Linked DNA regions of Homo sapiens: region 2 is linked to region 1. The links are contacts of gene promoters, found by promoter capture Hi-C in human tissues and cell types (Jung and others, 2019). All regions are on one chromosome and are shown on one strand. The core of a region is centred on a gene start or on the middle of the fragment in contact, and the rest is flanking DNA. Distances in the headings are between cores, read along the strand shown.

Region 1 (3,943 bases), core at 1,048-3,547:
GCTGGAGTTTCATTTCCAGACTAAAGTCTTCATCATTGGCTTCAGAAACAGCATTCATCTGTGGCTGTGCTGATGTAGTACACCAAGAACAACTGGGCTCTTCTCTGTCACTTTCAGTGGGCTACCTTCCCTCACCTCTCCAAGCAGCATGAAAGAATTCTTTACATTTTTAATCTCTTTTTTGTTTTTCCCTGAAAGTATGCTTTGGTGCTTAAAGAGAGAAGTCACAAAAGTATACTACTGAGTTTCCTGGAGATGAAATCCTGTTGTCCCTAGCTATGTGAATGAGCACAGGGATCCCTGATGCCATTATTTTGTATATTCATACGGCACACACTTACTGAGGGCCTTCTGTGTGCCCTAGGGGATTGAGCACAGTGACATATCAGGGCAGGTAGAAACAGATGGAGAGCTGATGCGGGCTGTCTTAGAGCAGCTGCCCCAGGAGGCCCCTGTGGATGGATGTTGGGCAGGAGCCCTGAGACGTTAGGGGCATATAACTAAAGGACATAGCAGGAGTTATAGGAGGAGCTGATCCCTGAGGGAAACAATGAAGACGGAGAAGATGGGGCTAAAGTTTGAATTGTGGGGACATTAATCACAGTGATTCTTAAAACTTTGCTGTTGATGATTTTAAATGGAGAAAATGAGTACGTAAGATGTTATTTCCCAGTTCAGTATATTGGTTGCCCACAAAGTATTTTCCTACCATGAATGGTCATATATACTTGTTGTAGAATACCAGGGACAGCAGAGATGGTGGGGTAGTTACTTCCTTTTCTTACAGCCCAAGAACTTTGGTGTCCAGGAGATTGACCAATTTAGCCACTGAGCATTTAATACAACACAGGGCTACCCAGATCCCACTGTCCTGATTTGCCCTGAAAGCCAAAGGAGTTAGGAGAAGGTGAGTGGGGAGAATATATTAATCCTGAGAGTTGAACAGAGCAAAAATCCCTATTACTTTTGTACTTAAAACATCTCTGCCACATGTGCTCACTCTTTATATTCTGTTTAGGTGGTTTATATGTGCACATCCCATCCTATGCCTGCAGTTAGCCAACTCAGGGTTTATATTGCCTCCTTTCTTTTTTTCTTTTTTTTTTTTTTTTTAAGAGATGGGGTCTCATTCTATCATGCAGACTGGAGTGCAGTGGTGTGATCACAGCTCATTGTAACCTCCAACGCCTGGACTAAAGTGATCCTCCTACCTTGGCCTCTCTGGTAGCTGGGACTACAGGTGCATGCCACCACACCCACCTAATTTTTTTTATTTTTATTTTTTGTAGAGACAGTCTCACTATCTTGCTCAGGCTAGTCCTGAACTCCTGGGCTCAAGTTATCTTGCTGCCTCAGCCTCCCATGGGTAATTTTTATTTCCTTTTTTTTTTTTTTTGGAGATGGAGTTTCGCTCTTGTCGCCCAGGCTGGAGTGCAATGGCACGATCTTGGCTCACTGCAGTCTCCACCTCCTGGGTTCAAGTGATTCTCCATCCTCAGCCTCCTGAGTAGCTGAGATTACAGGCAACTGCCACCATGCGCGGCTAATTTATGTATTTTTTTTTAGTAAGAGATGGGGTTTCACCATGTTGGCCAGACTAGTCTTAAACTCCTGACCTCAAGCGACCTGCCTGCCTTGGCCTCCCAAAGTGCTGGGATTACAGGCATGAGCCGCTATGCCTCGTCGCTGATTTTTATTTCTTATTTTTTTTTTAGAGATGGGGGTCTCACTATGTTGCTCAGGCTGATCTCAAACTCCTGGCCTCAAGTGATCCTCCCACCTTAGCCTCCCAAGTTGCTGGGATTATAAGTGTGAGCCACTATCCCTACCTCACTATTACCTTCTTTGCTTCTCTTGTTTTCTTTTGTTCTAAGTCAAACCCATCACAATCTTTTCTTGTCCTTCCAGGTGTTTTCCAGTGCTGTGCCCTGGATGTGCTCTCTTTCTCTTAGAGCCCAGAGAACTTGCTTTTCCCCCTTATATATGACCCTTAACTTTTTCTAACACATTATTAAGGGCCTGTGTCTATCAGCTGGGGGCACTTCTTGAAGGGAGGGCCTTTGTGTGGTCTGTTTCTAGTGACTTCCAGCTTTAACCCAGAGCCTCATGATTGCTGGGTGCCCATAGCCTTTTTGCTGAATGGAGGCACTCAGTCTCCTTGGGAAGAGAGAATCCATGATAGACCCACTTGGGAGCTCCCCACTTCAGGGGCCTACACACTGGTAATGCAACAGAATGCCCAAGAGTGACCTCATAAAGCAAGGATTCCCTTCGTGGCCCCTTCTCTGCTGCCTCTCAGAATCCAGACGCTAAGGAAAATCCCTAAGCAGAGATTTTCTGTTGGATGCTAAAAGCAAGGAATAAAAGTTGAAAATTTGGAAAATGTCTCAACACCGTCACCAGCGCCACTCGAGAGTCATTTCTAGTTCACCAGTTGACACTACATCGGTGGGATTTTGCCCAACATTCAAGAAATTTAAGTAAATATTATCTATCTCCATTGCCTGTTAAGAAATGTGCTAGTAGAAGTGTGAGGGCAGGGTGTCAGTGTTCTCTCAGCCTCTTCCCTCAGATACTCGTCTGCTTACCAAAATAAGTTGCATGTCCTTGACAATCTGGTTTCTATGATTGGTGAGGCTGGCATGCTATTACCTTTATGTGCCCTGTAGACTTGAATGACCAGTTTGACCAGTTTGACTGTTAGATAATCTGAAGGCTTTTCTCTTTTTTTATAATAGACCCCATCTCAAATCAGATAATGAAAATTACATATCTTGATATATTAGAAAAGTATATACATTCTGGCTGGGCACGGTGGCTCACACCTGTAATCCCTGCACTTTGAGAGGCTGGGGCGGATCACTTGAGGTCAGGAGTTTGAGACCAGCCTGGCCAACGTGGCGAAACCCCATCTCTACTAAAAATACACAGATTAGCCCGGAGTGATGGTGTGCACCTGTTGTCCCAGCTACTCAGGATGCTGAGGCAGGAGAATCCCTTTAACCTGGGGGGCGAAGGTTGCAGTGAGCCAAGATTGCACCACTGCACTCCAGCCTGGGTGACAGAACGAGACTCTGTCTCAGAAAAAAAAAAAAAGAAAAGGAAAAAGAAAAATATATATTCTATATTTTTTTAACTTATGAGAATGTGTTCATTTCATTTGTAACATATAATGGGAAACAGTAATACGTACTCTGAGAAAAATTGCAAAGCACAGATAAATGGAAATAAACAGGAAAAAGAATCACCTATAACCTCACCATCCATAGACAGACACTGTTAAAATTTTGGCATATTTCCTGCTGATTTTTTCTACTGCTGATTTTTGCACAGGTGAGATAATTTTGAACAGAGAATTTTGTATCTTTGGTTTTTGTGTTTTGCTGCACACAAAAACAAAAGATATAAAAATGGATCATAAACATTTTTCTAAATCCTGAAAAATGCATAGACATATTTTAGTGCCTGTATTTCACAAGATGGACATACCATAATTTACTTACACAGTCCTTTTTGTTAGATGTTTAAGTTGTTTTCAAGCTTCTCAGTGCTGGAAAAAATACTGAGATAGACATGTTTAGTTGAAGTTATTTCATTTCAGGTTATATTATCTTGGGTCAGAGAATGAATGGTTCTCAGGCTTTTCAAAAGAGCTGGTCAGTTTTTATGCCTCTGGCAGTTTTTGAGAGTGCTCAATCATACTACACTGTTGCCAGCATTAGATCTTATCACATTTAAGTCATTGCTAATTTTATAAACAAAAACAATGGTTTTACTTTGCATCTCCCTGATTGGTATTGCTGTAGAACATATTTGGAGAAGTTTGTTTGTCTTTGGTGTTTATTTCATGAATAGATTGTGTGCCCATTTTCTCTTGGGGTATTCAGTTTTTTATTACTGATGTGAGCATGTGTATGGGTGATTATTTGATGATTATCAGTTT
Region 2 (3,634 bases), core at 340-2,839, 380 kb after region 1:
GGGAATCCTACTGGATCCTGAGACTAGCCTGGAAGGGGTGTCATTTGTCACTGGGAATAGAGGTGCACGGCCTGGTGGACCCTCCGAGAGAGCTTAAGATTCATTTTTAAAACAGAGGATTTAAAAGACACAATAGGCATTGGAATCGGGTAGTAAGAAGAGAAAACCAGAGCCCCAAGTGAGGAAGTGGGTGATCTGTCCTCACACAGTTGGTGGGGGAGCTGGGCCTCCCCACTGACTGGACTCTCAGGTCCTTAGGAGGTGCTCTGTCCTGCACACCCCAAATGACCACCTAAATTCAGGCCTGAAGCAGTAAGAAGTACCCTGCCTCCAGGTCTTAGCAATAATTCTCCCCACATCAGATGCCAAGTCGTTTTCTTCCCCTTATACCAGGGAAGGTGTAATTGGCAAATGAGAAATGTGTATTTATATGTTTCCTCTTACACACACAGATGGCTGAAGATTTTTAATTTGTATCTCTCACCAGCAGTTTTGCAGATGGCTCAGTATCACTCACTCTCAGCTCTTAGATGTACCAAACTCAGCTCCTATAATTTCTTAAAATTTGTGATCTAGACATCAAACATATAGGAGCTATTTTAAGTAATAAAAAAAAATGCAAAGGTGATTTTCCCAGACAACCTGCATGTGGTGAAACTCTAAGATGTAAAGCTACAGGCTGTCCTTGGCCTCCATCTTGAAGATGCGGCTGTGCTGCCACACACCTCTGAATTCTAAGCCCTCTCACAAAATGGCTTTCCTAATACTGCATGTGTCACAACCAGATAAGCACGGTGGCTTTCCCACCTCACCTCCAGCTACTTCCAAGGGCCCGTTCTTTTTCCGGAGTTCCAGGACAGCTTCCACAAACTCCTTGCCACCTTTCTTCTCCAGCGTGTTTCCTAGACAAGGACAGGGTGGGGTCAGGTTGCCATTCTGTGTCTCCGGCACACACAGACACTTAGCATGTCAGGTGATTACATACTTCAAATGATCTATTAAATTTCCATCAGGCTGCAAAACAGGAACTAAGCCTTGGCTAAGTTAATAAAGTAAAATTGAGAAGGGCTTTGTCATCACCAGTTACTACCCTCAAATTGCTGCTTCATCTGGCTGTCTCTGCTGCCCCTTATTTGGGTCTGACTCAGGGTGATCATGGATGTGCCAGAGATGTGAAAGAGACAGGACATGCTTGTTTTTTGCAAACATGCTTGTCCTGGATGCTTTTCATTGGCATGAGATACTAGCTGGTACTGGTTTCCAAGACTAATGCCTGCCTTAGGTTTTCTTCTCTGTCTCTGGGGAGAACCCCCAAGTAAGGAGGTTTCAGCAGCATACAATGCTCCCATCAATAAGCCAGCTCTCCTCCTGGCAGCAGGCCTAGAAGGAAGTGTTCATACCTGGCCACCTTTGGACCAGCATTATTACCATGCTTAGTTCCTGTTTTGCAGCTTTGGTGTCATATGCAAATACAAAATAAAAATGGCCTCAGACGGTATTTTCTTAATTACACTAATGATTCAGAATTGTTTTCAGTAAAGAAGGGCAACATCAGAAGCAGAGCTTAAAGATTAATCTGTGTTCTATAAAAAGCTTGGAAAGGAGGATGTCTAACTGCTCAGGACCAGATTTTTCACAAAAGCCAATGGAGATTGGGAGCAATGTGTTTTCTTCAATTAGGGCACTTGCTAAGTAATCAGTTCCTGCTGTGAAAACCAAGTTCCCAAACAAGATCACCAACACCTATGAGAACTCTGGGTTGATGCTCATGTGGGATAGCAAGTGGCAATCAAAGTTAGCAACAAGATCAGCCTTTCAAGTTTGGCCAGAATGGGGTCTGAGTCTTCCTTAAGCTCTGATTCCTCAGTTTTGCACATTTTAAAGTACTTTTCCTCACAAGAGGACAAAATACTCCCCTTAAGATTCACATCTGTCTTGGAAAATTCCAGGTGCACCTGGCACAATTCTGGTATGGGACGGTCAAGGTGCATCGGAATGCACCAGCCCAAATTCTCTTTGGAGTCACCCTGCGATGACCAGGGTTAATTATCTTAGTGAAACTTGCCTCCTTTGAATGTTTGTTCTGCAGGGGTGAACTAACCCCGGGAGGTGTCTGGGAAGAAGAGTAAATAGCTTGGGCTTTGTCCCAAATAAGAACCAGGGCTAATGGCTAGGACTGGGCCTGTACCCACCCGCTGTAGGAAACCTGGGGTGTGCAGATGAACATGACCAGCAGCCATAGCCCAGGGGAGCTCTCAGCTGTGTCCGAGAGAGGGTGGCACAAACTTAGCATCCTTGAGGTGGGATTTTGTGTTACCCTTCATGATCTCAGACTGCCCTCCTGCCTCTACCTGTCCTGGAAAGCAGCACAGGCTTTAAATGGCAGAGTGAGAATGTCACACCTGTTGCTGCTGCATGTTTCTAGTAAAGTCAGCATCAGAGGTGGCAGCTGAATGGGGCATGCACTGGAGGAAGCAGGCCGGGGGCTTAGAGCCCAACTCCACCACTACAAAGTGGATGCAACCCAGGCGAGTGAGACCCCAATACAGGTTCACCTAAACTATCCCTGCAGCTGAGAAAAAGGAATCTGGAGCCGGAACCAGCTGGATTCCACACACTGCTGCCCCTGGGGCCCAGTCTAGCCTTCTGTCTTAAACCCATTCTCCAGCTTGAGGCAGGGCAACAAAAATGCTGGAGGCTGGACTAGTTAGCATTCTCAGTCTTTATCAGATTAACTCTTTGGTGAGAACTGAGAAATTTGAAAGGTAAAATAATGTTTTTACTTTATCATGATTACCAACTCCTTTCTAAAATATTTAAGAAAATGGGCTGATCTATAATTAAAGGTGTTTTATCTTAGGAAGAGTGTTTAAAATTTTTACTTATAAATATTGCTTTAAGTAAAAGTGAAATTTCCAAGTTAAAATACACTTAAATGCATTTCCCAAACTTAAAAACTGAACCCTAGATTGCAGGCAATCAACCCAGTCAGGACTTGACTCCTACACACACATATGTATGCACATGTTCATGTAGACACACATGTACTTTTTAACAAGAAACAGGCCCATTTTCAACCATATTGTCAACACTCTTATTGTAAGACTCTTGCTTTTTAGGCTTAACTTCAGGGTTAATCATAAAGCAATTGGCTTATTTGCCCCCAAGCATAAACATGTGTTACTCCCATGAGAACAAGGACATTATTTCATGCTTAGAAAGCAGGCATAAGTATCAGTGTTCAAAACAGCCTAAGCGAAAATTTAGGCTTGGACAAATGTCAGGCTAGGCCTGTGGTCTATTTCACTGTTAGAAAGAACTTTTGATGGGTAAAAGTTAATCACTGGGGCTAAGCATTCCTGCACTCGGATTCCTTCTTCCAGCAGTCTCAGGACTTCACACCAAATATGAGAAATGGAGTGATTACTAGCTTCCTCTTTTCTCCTCTCACACATCAAAGTGGGAGCTGGAACCAATTGAGGCCATGTAGGAATCTGGTTTATCATTGGGATTGTAAAAGATATCTGGGGTCAATACTGGTTTGGACTGGTCCGCTGGGCAGAAAAGCCCTGAAGGGCTTTGGAAGACTGGGTTCTGACCTGGCAGTCTTTCTGCCTTGGCCAGTTGGGGTGTC

Evidence for each region. Contacts are between HindIII fragments. The study calls those that stand out against the background at their distance.
Region 2: a contact is called between a fragment that was not itself captured here and the fragment with the promoter of CATSPER3 in region 1, in 1 of the 25 tissues and cell types used here (IMR-90 fibroblasts).

What each region holds. Positions count from the first base shown.
Region 1 is chr5:134,965,610-134,969,552 of GRCh38, forward strand. It overlaps CATSPER3 (cation channel sperm associated 3), which reads left to right and starts at 2,298. Exons shown (of 8, transcript NM_178019.3): 1 at 2,298-2,480. The coding sequence starts at 2,383. The HindIII fragment of the contact is 15,471 bases long and covers 1-3,943 here.
Region 2 is chr5:135,345,156-135,348,789 of GRCh38, forward strand. MACROH2A1 (macroH2A.1 histone) reads right to left here. Exons shown (of 9, transcript NM_138610.3): 7 at 813-902. Among named protein-coding and RNA genes, the nearest start is that of MACROH2A1, 52 kb to the right of the region's middle. The HindIII fragment of the contact is 5,802 bases long and covers 1-3,634 here.